Regions from separate parts of the Homo sapiens genome. Here regions 1 and 2 are each linked to region 3. Evidence: promoter capture Hi-C in human tissues and cell types (Jung and others, 2019). All regions are on one chromosome and are shown on one strand. Each heading gives the region's core, a stretch centred on a gene start or on the middle of the fragment in contact. The rest is flanking DNA. Distances are from core to core; before and after follow the strand shown.

The links. The method cuts DNA at HindIII sites, captures the fragments that hold promoters and counts their contacts. A contact is called where the count stands out against the background at its distance.
Region 1: a contact is called between the fragment with the promoter of OR51L1 here and a fragment that was not itself captured in region 3, in 2 of the 25 tissues and cell types used here (mesenchymal stem cells and thymus).
Region 2: a contact is called between the fragment with the promoter of OR51F2 here and a fragment that was not itself captured in region 3, in 2 of the 25 tissues and cell types used here (small bowel and thymus).

The regions. Positions count from the first base shown.
Region 1 is chr11:4,992,674-4,996,667 of GRCh38, forward strand. OR51L1 (olfactory receptor family 51 subfamily L member 1) reads left to right here and starts at 2,178. Exons shown (of 3, transcript NM_001004755.2): 1 at 2,178-2,662. The HindIII fragment of the contact is 11,490 bases long and covers 1,436-3,994 here.
Region 2 is chr11:4,818,691-4,822,793 of GRCh38, forward strand. OR51F2 (olfactory receptor family 51 subfamily F member 2) reads left to right here and starts at 2,631. Exons shown (of 1, transcript NM_001004753.2): 1 at 2,631-3,766. The coding sequence starts at 2,732. The coding sequence ends at 3,724. All of the region lies in intron 2 of MMP26 (matrix metallopeptidase 26), which reads left to right. The HindIII fragment of the contact is 11,845 bases long and covers 1-4,103 here.
Region 3 is chr11:4,899,160-4,903,273 of GRCh38, forward strand. The region is part of intron 2 of MMP26 (matrix metallopeptidase 26); the gene reads left to right. Among named protein-coding and RNA genes, the nearest start is that of OR51A7, 2.6 kb to the right of the region's middle. The HindIII fragment of the contact is 6,232 bases long and covers 1-4,114 here.

The sequences.
Region 1 (3,994 bases), core at 928-3,427, 93 kb after region 3:
TATCTAGTTATTAGCTATGAAACTTTGGTTAAGTCAAGTAACTTAAACAAAGTTAAGTTCAGGGCAGCTGAATCAACACTCAATTCCTAACAAGTCCTTTGCATCTCAAACTCTCCCTTTGTATTTGCTTCTGGAGAACCTAACCTCTGAAGTTGACTATTTGAAAAGCCAATGAAACTGTCAATCTACTGTGACACTAGTAGTATAAAAAAGAAAATGCATATCAAAACAACATGAGTAATGAGAAAAGCAGATACCGTGTGACTACTGCAGATCTTGAAAAATTATGAAAGTACTTAAGAATAACTTATAACCAATAAATATCAAAATGTATATCCAAACTATGTATTCCTAGATAAATACAATTTATAAAAATTGGTAAAAGAATAAATAGAAGATCTAAATGGTCCTATAAATGTTGGATAATGTAATCCTTAATTACATCTCTCCACAACTAGTTTTAAAACTGACAAAGAGAAAACCTGAATTGTCCGTAAGGATTAACTAGAAAGCCTATAATTAAAACTACCCTGGGATGGCCATTTAATTAAAAAACAACATACCAGCATATGCAAAATCTTCCCGGGGAGAAGAGAAAGAATATTTCTTCAGGTATTTTAGAGCTTTGTGTAATCTCAATCTCATAACAAAACATGACAAAGACATTACAGTAAGGAAAATTTCAGGCCGTGCTTACTGATGAACATCGATGTCAAAATTCTAAACGAAATATTTGCAAACCAAATCTGGCAATAAATAAAGAAAAGAAAATGGCATTCCAAACTTGAGTTTATTCCAGAAAGACAAGTTGATATTTGAAAATCAATCAATATAATTAATCACATTAACATGATATTAAAGAAAAATAATATGTATCATAAAAGCATGAATTTCAATAAACCCAAAATAATTTTATGAAATTCAGCATCTATTTTTGACAAAATCCCTTATCACATGAACAATAGAAGATGACAACATTCTCGGATAAAAGCAGGTACAAAAAATCTTAGCAAACATACTTAATGGTAAAATGTTGTTAACCACACCTGTGATATCTGCAAAAAGAAAAGAAAACAATTTTTATCCCTTCTCCCCAAAATGCACTGGAGATCTTATCCAATGCAACAAAGCAATAAATATAGAAAACGATAATGAAGATTTTAAATAAGAGAAAAAGAAGCTGACATTACTTGTGGAGGTGTGATTTGGTGCAAAATAAGGCCTTAGAGAATACAGATCACTTATTAAAAATAAAAAATAAGTTCAGCTTTTCTGAAAAAAGAAAAATTAACTTTATTTTTATGTAACAGTCCCAAATATTTAGAAAAAATTAATCATGCTACTTACGTTAGCACAATTGAATGCCAAATATGTGAGAATAAACCTAGTGTAAAATATGTAATCTCCAAACAGACAAGTATAAAATAATATTGAGAAAAAATAAAGACCTTAATTAATTGAAGTTCCTGTTCTTGGATTAGTTATCTTACATTCTAAACATGTAAATTCTCCCCAAATCGATCTACAGATTCAATACATTCTCAATAGTAGTCTCAATGTATATCTTGGTAGAAATGGATAACCTGTTTCTAAAATTTATTAATAAATGCAAAGAGGTAGGATAGCCAATATGCAAAGAAAAAAAATGTGTTGGGAGATGATGCTTCTTACCAAGCACTGAGGAAGCAGCAATGAACTGGATAGTAGCGTTTGCCTTTAAAGTGCTTAGTGTGCCTTCTTGAACCCTGTTGCTTAATAAATGCTTATGAAGCACATGACTAATAAATAACTCTGTTTAGTGAAATGTGGTAAACATCTTATAATGGAAAGACTTATCATTGCACTTTCTCATCATTGTTCTGTACAATGCCCCTAGTTAAAGCCGAAATTTCAGTATTCTTCTGGATCACAGTAGTTATCATAAATTTACTTTCTTACACTCATTTGAGAAAACTATTAGAGAACTAAGAATGGTGGATGAAAACAGGGATGCATTTCTACTATTTTCAGTATTATGATCATATGCTCTTGCCATACCTGTGGTTAAGGGCTTTTTATGGCCATTTCATCTCTGGGGATCCAACAGACTCTGACACCAATCCCTAATTTTCTTTGCCAGGAGACACCAGGAGTATTTATAGAGATGGTGGAAGCCTTCAAGCCTCACCACTCACAGAGTCGAAGGTTTTCAAAACCTGAGGTTCATAGAGACTTAAAATTGTAGCATCTTTAATCAGTACAGGTTTGATTTTCAGGTAGAGATGGGAAGTTTTCTCAGGTGAGAGATAAGCCCGTAAGAGCAGCAACTTAAACCACAGACACACAAAGAGAAATTAGAAGAAAGAAACAGCCAATCAAAGGGACCGGAAAAAATAGAGGATTACATGCTGAAAAGACACAAACTTAGATAAAAACAAAATATAAAAAAATGGCAGCAGGAAGGAGGCTAGAAAAGATAGTAAAGATAATTTGACACATAAAATGAGATAAAGAGAGAAAAAGCCACAGACATAGGAACAGAAAGAAAATATGACTTTAACTATAGTGAAGAAAAGTTTAGTCAGAGAAAGACAAAATGGAACTGTGGATCATTTGAGAAATGGGCTACTGATTGCAAATTAACTAGGCATATTGATTCAATTGCCTTATATTTAAATTTCAGGTAAGTGTGAATTTTTAAATTATAAATAGTTGGTAGATTTTAGCACATTTTGTATGTGGATATAGTTTGCTAAAGAGAGTAAAATTATGAGAAAGATGATGTACCATTTATGCAAAAGGAAAAAGAATTATTCTCATCTGTGAAAAAAATTAAATTTATTACAGTATTGTAATGTCTTGTTCCAATTATTTTCAGCGATTTTAAGATAAGCGATAAGCTGATTAGCAGAGAATAGGTTTTGATACTAGAGAGGCTGTAAAAAAATGGTCTTATGTTCAGTAGTTCTCCCTTAATTACCTGGAATAGGTGAATGTGTGACATAAGCCTATTCATGCCTCTGCCCTTTGAAACAGTCTTGTTATTACTCCCAGTTCTTTTCTATTATTTCTCTTTCGACCTCAGTGTGATTAAGTTGTACTAAAATCAACAAAGAACCACAAAGAATCATTGTCAGTGACCCAGAAATAGAGTCAAAAGAAAATGAATAGAGAAAAGACAATAAATGGATTTTAAAAAGTGAAAGACATGACAGATATGGCAGTGAGAGGATAAGAAAGGGAAAGTACACACAGAAATAGAAACGGGAAAGGGGCTTAGGGGGCCCGGGTAGTGGAGGAAATGCGGAAAAGTAGCTCAAAGCATACAAACTTGCAGTTATGTAGGAAGAATAAGTCTAGAGATCTAATATACAGCATGACCACAGTTCATAATATTGTAGAATGGGAACTCTTTTCAGGTGAGGGATAAATCAATGAGATAAAGCAGTGAGTTAATAATATTGTAGAAATGGGGACTCTTTTTAAGTGAGGGATAAACCAATATGAGCAAGAATTAAAACCACAGAAATTGTATACCGAAAATTTGCCAAGAGAGTAGAGCTTAGGTGTTCTTAGCATACACATGCACGTGTGTGCATGCACACACACACACACAGGCACATAGTAATGACCATTTCACTATGTATATGTCTATGTATATGCATATATATATATAAACATCATTCTGTATACCTTAAATATACACAGTTAAAAATTAATAGGGATTACAAACAGAAATATTCCTGCCTGTCCTAACCTCAAATCTATTGGCCAGTCTACAACTGAAGTTTTCTAAACATCGCAATCTGCACATAGGGGACTTGCACATAAAGCAGGGAGAAAGAGAATTCTAAAGAGTAGTGATCCACTTTGTTCTTTGCATTCTATGTGAGAATTTAAGAAAATATGATTTATTTCAGGACTGAAAGAATTAAAGGAGAAAACATGGAATATTTTTCTGGCATGGGGTAAAATAAACTACTTCTCCACTGTGGCCACAGTTTTCTTTTCTTTT
Region 2 (4,103 bases), core at 1,381-3,880, 80 kb before region 3:
CTTGCCTCACAGTTTCTGCTATGTGGTATTGTCATTGTTATTCAGCTTAAAAGACTGTTTTTCTCGTTTATGTGTTTCCGGAATAGAGAAGGTACTTAATAAATGGATGTTGTTATTGCTTTGGAGTCTTTCATTTTATATTATTATATTAATGTGACTATATTAATAAAATACAGTATTAGACTAATTCAATAGTCCAGGTTAGAGAGTGAATACATTTGGAAAAGAGTATTTTGTACTCAGATAAAGACAAGCTGGAAGAATAAAGACAGATATTAGAGGTTGAATAGAAAAGATTGGAAGAGGTGTTGGTTAAAAAATAAGAGAATACAGGATAACTCCTAGATTTCTGATTTAGAAAATTGGGTCATTTTTATGAAAGTTATAGCCTTTATACAGAAAATGGTATAGGAGGAAAAACAGTTATAAGAGAAAATAATCAATTTGGTTTTGAACATAGGAGGTTTTCTTATTTACCCATGAAAAATCTAGATGGAAATGTCCAGAATAAAGTTTTATCTTCAGACATGGAACCTAAACACCAAAACTGGTTTTCAGAAATTCACTTGAAATTTATTATTGTATAGGTGAAATATGAGGCTGTGAAAATGGGGGAGATAATTTTACAAGTGACTTGAGAATAGGCAAAGGAGAGATCTCTGAAGAATGCCAAATATAAGGTTGGAAAACATAAGGTACCCGGGAGAGGGGGGAAAGAAACAAGAAAACTGAAACAGTCAGAGAAAGAGCTGATTAATGGGAGAATATTAAGAGAGACTGGTATCATAAAATAATGAGGGAGAGAAAATTTCCAGAATCATCAACAAAATATGTATTGTTGAAAGAATGAGATGGTCACTGAAATGAGTCGACTGATTTTTTTTTTTTTTTTTTTTTTTTTTTTTTGAGACAGTGTTTCTCTCTGTCACTCAGGCTGGAGTACAGTGACACATTCATGACTCACTGCAATCTTGACTTCTGAGCTCAAGAAATTCTCCTACTTCAGCTTACCCAGTAGTTGGGACCTACAGACATGTACCACCATGCCTGGCTAATTTGTAAACGTTTTTGTAGAGATGGGGTTTCCCTATGTTACCCATGCTGGTCTTGAACTCCTGGGCTCAAGTGATCCTCCCGCCTCGACCTCCCAAAGTGTTGGGATAACAGGCATGAACCCTGTGCCTGGCCTCAACTGAATTTGATGGTTCCATTTTGGTGTTATTTTCCATAGTGGATATAGCCTGGATACCTGATTTTCTTGGCCCTTTGCATACAGGAACTATCGATATTAAGACTACTTTCCAGAGAAGCCTAAAGAGCTTCATATCTCCACAGTTCACATGGAATTAACATTTGACACATCAAACTCCCCTCCAAAGATACCACACGGACCATAGTATGTCTCTTTAAAATCATACACCTGGAGCCTTTGTCAGACTGGTTTAGAAATTCCTTTTATGCATTCCTCAGCTTTACTGAGTGAAGGCATTGAGGTTAGATATGCAGGTTTCATCCTCATTTCTTCTACTGCCTAACTGCATAATTTGGGGCAAATTACTTAATGTAAATATCAGTTTCTTCATATGTATATTAGGGATAAGAAATTTATTTTCTTTGTTGAATAATAATGATTGGATCATATTATGGATATGAAGATAATTGTGTCTGGCATATGGCACATGTTCAAGAAATGCTGGCTATTGTGTTTTTTTTATTTTGATACTAGTCTGTGGTATTATTTATCATAGTGTAGTGCTTAATTTATTGTAGTAAAATTATGGTAAGGTTTGCTTTTTTCCTCCATTCCTTCCCTTTCTTCCTTCCCTTCTTTCTCACTCCCTCCCTTCTTCCTCTTATTCCTCCTCCTCCTCTTGCACTTTCCTCCTCTTCCCCTTTGTGCTCTTACCTGCCTCCACCTTCACTAGTCTTTCTCTTTCTCCTCCTTCTTCTCCTCCTCCTCTGTCATCGTTGTCTCTCTCCTTTCTCCAACTTTCTTACTTTTGTGGTTTCTCTCAACATTTAGGCAGTGCTTTATAAAGATAACATTGGGTGATTAATTGCTGAGTCTTAGCTTGCTCATCTGCAAAATTCGTGTACGATCTATCTCCAAGAGTTGGTGTATGGATGAAATTATATAATGCATATAAAATGTCAACAACACAGGGAACTCCCAACAAATGCGATCAATATTTATTTTTCTTAGGGTGTTTTTTTGGGCCACCCTATTACCACATATATGGGCCTGTGTGTCCCAGGGATTTTTTGGCATTCTTCTGGATATTTTCCAAGGAAATATAATAATATTCACATTTCAGATATGACTTAGTTTGCTCAGTGTTTTATTCCAGAATCAAAATTTATTTTCAACAAGTACTGGAAAGCAGGTTTCTCATAATATTGTTTAGGAATTTTACTGGGGATTTATATTGGCAGACGTGACTTAATTGTAATGTTTATTGCTAGTAATGAGAATTATAGGCTTAATATACTTAAGAAAATTTGATGTGGCACAGTTCAGGGAATTCACTTTTCTCAATAAATGTGAAACACTGACAGACTTGGAGAGAAATGTGTAGCTCTGGGAAGCTAAAAAGAAAATTCAAGTTCTTTGAAAATTAGAAATAATAACTCAGTGAATCTTGAAGTGCCAGAGAGATGTTACAAGTGATAAACTATGTATTATGTGTTATGTTAAATGACTGAAACATCCCTGTCTTCTCAGTGCTTCCCTATGTCGGTCCTCAATAATACCATTGCTGAGCCTCTGATCTTCCTCCTGATGGGCATTCCAGGCCTGAAAGCCACCCAGTACTGGATCTCCATCCCTTTTTGTCTCCTATATGTTGTTGCCGTCTCTGGAAATAGCATGATCCTGTTTGTGGTCCTCTGTGAACGGAGCCTCCATAAGCCTATGTACTATTTCCTCTCTATGCTTTCAGCCACAGACCTGAGCTTGTCCCTGTGTACACTTTCTACTACCCTTGGTGTCTTCTGGTTTGAAGCCCGAGAAATCAACCTAAATGCCTGCATTGCCCAGATGTTCTTTCTACACGGATTTACTTTCATGGAGTCTGGGGTTCTACTGGCCATGGCCTTTGATCGTTTTGTGGCCATCTGTTACCCACTGAGATACACTACCATCCTTACCAATGCCCGAATTGCCAAGATTGGGATGAGCATGTTGATAAGAAATGTTGCCGTCATGTTGCCAGTCATGCTCTTTGTCAAGAGGTTGTCCTTCTGCAGTTCTATGGTCCTTTCACATTCTTACTGCTACCATGTTGATCTCATCCAACTCTCCTGCACAGACAATAGGATCAACAGCATCCTTGGTCTGTTTGCGCTTTTGTCCACTACAGGGTTTGACTGCCCTTGCATCCTGCTCTCCTATATCCTGATCATTCGATCTGTCCTCAGCATTGCTTCCTCAGAAGAGAGGCGGAAAGCCTTCAACACCTGCACATCCCACATCAGTGCTGTTTCCATCTTCTACCTCCCTCTCATCAGTTTGTCTCTTGTCCATCGCTATGGCCATTCAGCACCTCCATTTGTCCACATCATCATGGCCAATGTCTTTCTGCTAATCCCTCCTGTGCTCAACCCTATTATTTACAGTGTAAAGATTAAGCAGATTCAAAAGGCCATTATCAAGGTCTTAATTCAGAAGCACTCCAAATCTAATCATCAGCTATTTCTGATTAGAGATAAAGCCATTTATGAATAAGTGCTTTGCTACAATGGAGTAATTGTCCCAAAGTGCCCACACATGCCTCCAACAGTCCAAACTAAGCAATTTATAGGTTATGTGACATTTATTTAGTCAATTTCTTTGTCAATAAATTCATGTCATTGCCAACTAAATTATGATTTTGTTTTCAATATGAAGTGAAGAAACATATATAAACAACTAATTATATTTGTAAGCAGTATGAAAGCTACATAAAGTATTAATTCAGGCTCTGTATACAATTATAAAAGTTCACATTTAATGTGAGAAACTTTCTAAATAAGTCAGTTGTTATTTTCTGAATGACACACAGAAAACACTTTAATTAGTTTCTTTTCTTGAAATTCTTGATTATATATGCGATTCCAAAATAGAG
Region 3 (4,114 bases), core at 1,049-3,548:
GCAGCCCCAAATTCAGGAATCTGGGAGCTGATGTCTTAGTTCCGAAGAAAGGCTGACAGAGAAATTCACTGCATAATTTATTGCAGTCTACTCTTGTATTACTCAAATTCAACTGCTTCATTTGGGAATAGCTCTTCTCATGTTTGTGTTGTCTATTTGCCCAAGAAGAAGACACGATCATGAAAAGTTTGTGAACGAACTACAACATACATCACTTAAGCTGTTCTTGAAACCTCAACTGATCTTATCATCTGCCATCTCTATAATCCATTCTAAATTCTTCTTTAGTAAAGACTACAACATTTATTGCATAGGTTTCTTTCATGGTAGAGCAACCAGATCCTTTTTTCAAAGGGTAAAAATGTCTCTATAGAATGACCTTTTCAGGCTAAGGCTATTTCACTTGCTAATTTATCATCAAAATTTGCCAGGATGGTACCAAGAGACAACCAGTCAGCTATCTGGGTACTGAACATATTCTTCCATTCCTTCATTGTTTATTAGAAGCCCTATCTTTTCCTGATGATCAAGGATTAATTAATTACCCCATCAGGCTAATGACCTCTTTCCTTGCCAGCTTGTTTTTGAGCTTAGAGAAGATCAAAGTTATTAGGCAAGAGCTTAACATAAATTTTATTTATTTTATTTTTAAATTAATTAAAAGATCCTCACAATGTCTCCCACTCTGAAAATGAGGACCTTTAGCTCAACAGAACATAAATTGCAGAAATAGGAAACACAAATTTTCCAAGTAGGTCACCAAAAATGATGGTAAGTGGGACTACTCTTAATTTCAGCTCTTTTGTTCCCAAATATATTTATTCTAATCATTGCAGTCAAAGCTATGTATAATGATTGTTGGTGTGTTGTACATGACGCATCTGGGGTATGTTGTCTCATCCTCACTAATGTCGTCTCTAAGGTGGAGACTCAACTCTACCTGTTCTATTTCTGTACCAGATTGGAAGCTTTTGAGTGGTGTAGCCCATGATACAAGCATGGTTGTGTGTCTACTGTTGCAAGTATTCTAAAATGTGTCCCTTTTCATGAAGTGATATAACATAATGTCCTATGCTGGTGGATCAAACCCTTTGTAAGCCCTGAGATACTAGGTTTGGCTATGACTCTTCAAGAAAATAAAACAAACCTACACCCATCATATGTGTCAATTTCTATCAAGTTCATTTGCTGCCTTTTGTGGGGTAGAATAATCTTCCATTAAGTGGCCATTTTCTACTCAAGAAGTGATGCTACATTGGGCAGTTAACATTGTTTTCTATCATTGCCAGGTTAATATTTAGTAGAAAGAGAAGTTTTATCAGCCTTGTTGAGTGGGAAACTATGCTTTGTGTTTATGCAGTTTTCATCCTGCCACTATAGCTACTTCAATTAGGAGCCAATTATGCCACCACTGAGGTTGCTTATATCAGAATCTAGCTGATATAAATTGTCAGGTCCACTCAGTGTTCTTTATAGCTTAGGTTCTTTTCCATTATGTATAGACTATGATGAACATTGATCTTTTATATAAAGATCTTCAAACTTTGTTCTAACTTCTAGAACCATCCACATGCCACTTCATCCCTCTGCCTCTTTGTCACTAGTATTCCAGTCTTTCTCCTTCCAACAGCCTGGTCAATTAGCCAAGTTACCCACCATTAACAATAAGTTGAATTTTTGTGTATTCTTACATAGAACCACCTCTTTTTTATACAAAGAGGATGAGTGAGTCCATCAGCTGATTTGTCCGTGGGATGTATTTCTCCTAAGTACTATCTTTCAAAGTCACTCCTTAATGGATCAGTAACACATCTACAGTTCATTTTTGGCATACCAACTTTACTCATTTATGAACTAACTTGGCTTTCATCCCCCACCAGCTGGTCATAAGGGATCATCCACGTAGCTACAAGTGTAAGCTTAGGGAAAGTGCACCACATTGCAATAGTAGTGCACTAACATCAGTGGACTTCGCATCACCTCTTTGTGCTTTTTTTTTTTTTTTTTTTTTTTTTTTGAGACGGAGTCTCACTCTGTCGCCCAGTCTGGAGTGCAGTGGCGTGATCTCCGCTCACTGCAAGCTCTGCCCCCCGGGGTTCATGCCATTCTCCTGCCTCAGCCTCCTGAGTAGCTGAGACTACAGGTGCCTGCCACCACACCTGGCTAATTTTTTTGTATTTTTAGTAGAGACGGGGTTTCACAGTGTTTGCCGGGATGGTCTCAATCTCCTGACCTTGTGATCCGCCTGCCTCGGCCTCCCAAAGTGCTGGGATTACAGGTGTGAGCCACCATGCCCGGCCCCCTCTTTGTGCTCTTTCAGTTGTGCTTGATGGTCTTACTTGTGTCTTAGCATGGGCATACGTCTTTCTGTTATGTGAGTAGAATTAGCACTCAAAGTGTGGCATATGCTGCCTCCGGGGTTTCAGGAGGTCACTACATGTGGTACTTTCTTCTTGGTGGTAAAAGATAAAAAATGCTTTAGTTTGTCTATTAACTGAGAGAGGCTGTCGCAATTTTTCCTATACCGCAGGATCCCTAAAAACTTCTCTAATGTTTAAGATTCCTACTTTTTTGTATGGGTGTTTATCTCTATCCTTTCCCACCTAAAGAGCACTGTGTTTTGACAAGAATGCCAATATACTTGCATTTCATGCTCGTCTACCTGATTAATATATTGTCATTGATATAGTGGGTCAATAAAATATTATGCAAAATATCCAAAGAAAATAAGTATTTTCAAATTATAGATTTATTATAGAAGATGGAAGAGAATATATTTGCCACATAAATACTACATACTTGATAATCGAATCCAGGTTAATCTTAATCTTCCCTGGTAAAAACACTGCACCTGACATAAAACTTTAAACTGATGTTTCTACTTGGTTGAGATTGGAGTCCACAGTAGTCCTCCATGACCCTTTTCGTTACACACACAAAAGTAGCCAGTAAGAGAATCCAGTTTACAGAGAATGCTCTATTTATAAATAAATCTTGTGAGTTACCTTTCCTCTGGGTACTATTACAGTTCACTTCAGATGAAAATTTTAACAATAACTTGCTACAGCATGTCAGGGACCATCAACATTTCATCTGCAACCAGTGATGTGGTTCCTATTGTGATGCAGACAGTGATGAATCCAACTCTAGAATTTCTTATTGGCAATCTGTTTTCTAGAATCTTTTCTCACTTACAAGTAAGAACACAGTATCTGGTTTTCTGTTGCTGTGTTAATTTGCTCAGGATAATGGCTTCCAGATGCATCCATGTTGCTCCAGAGGACACGATTTTGTTCTTTTTTTGTGGCTGTGTAGTATTCCCTGGTGTACATGTATCACATTTTCTTTATCCAACCTTCTGTTGGCACCTGGGTTGGTTTCATGTCTTTGCTATTGTTTGACACACTTTTTAGTTGTGTTGTTTGTTTTCTTATTGAGTTTCAAGAATTCTTGTGTCTTTTGCAAATATTTTCTTCCAATTAGCAACTTATAATAAAATGTTAAGTCCCAAGATAATAAGGTGGGTATCAAATGCATCTGCTAGAATAGCCCAATGACATTTAATAAGTCTATTTGCTTCAGATAACTTAACATGGAGAATATGTAATCTCATTTATCTTATGGGAGTTGATCGTCTTCTCCAGACATGGGAACTAGCAATGAGTGGGCTTATCCCTGCTCATTGTTTTAAATTTCTATTCATTTCTTATTCACAGATATATGTATTTTGTATTTGAGCCATGTTGTGTCTTTTATATTATTATTCCATTAAATTGTATTAATTAAAATTATTTTATTATTAATGTAAGGCTTTCCATTATTTTAACCAAAGTTTTTCTTTTTAACTTAGAAATATGCTTTAAGAAATACTTAAAACAGTTATATATATATCCTTATTTTATACATTTTTACTTAAATTGTCTTCACATTTTTATATTGTTTCATAGCCTTAAATAATTATTATTTAATTTAAACCATGATGGAACTGACATATAAAATAGAAATATGTGAATAAAACGCAGGATACTCCTCGGACGGTTCTAGTGAATGCAATATAATGTGGAAGGCATGTAGTTTTGAGACACTGCTTTAAAAATCTAACAGAGTACGACAG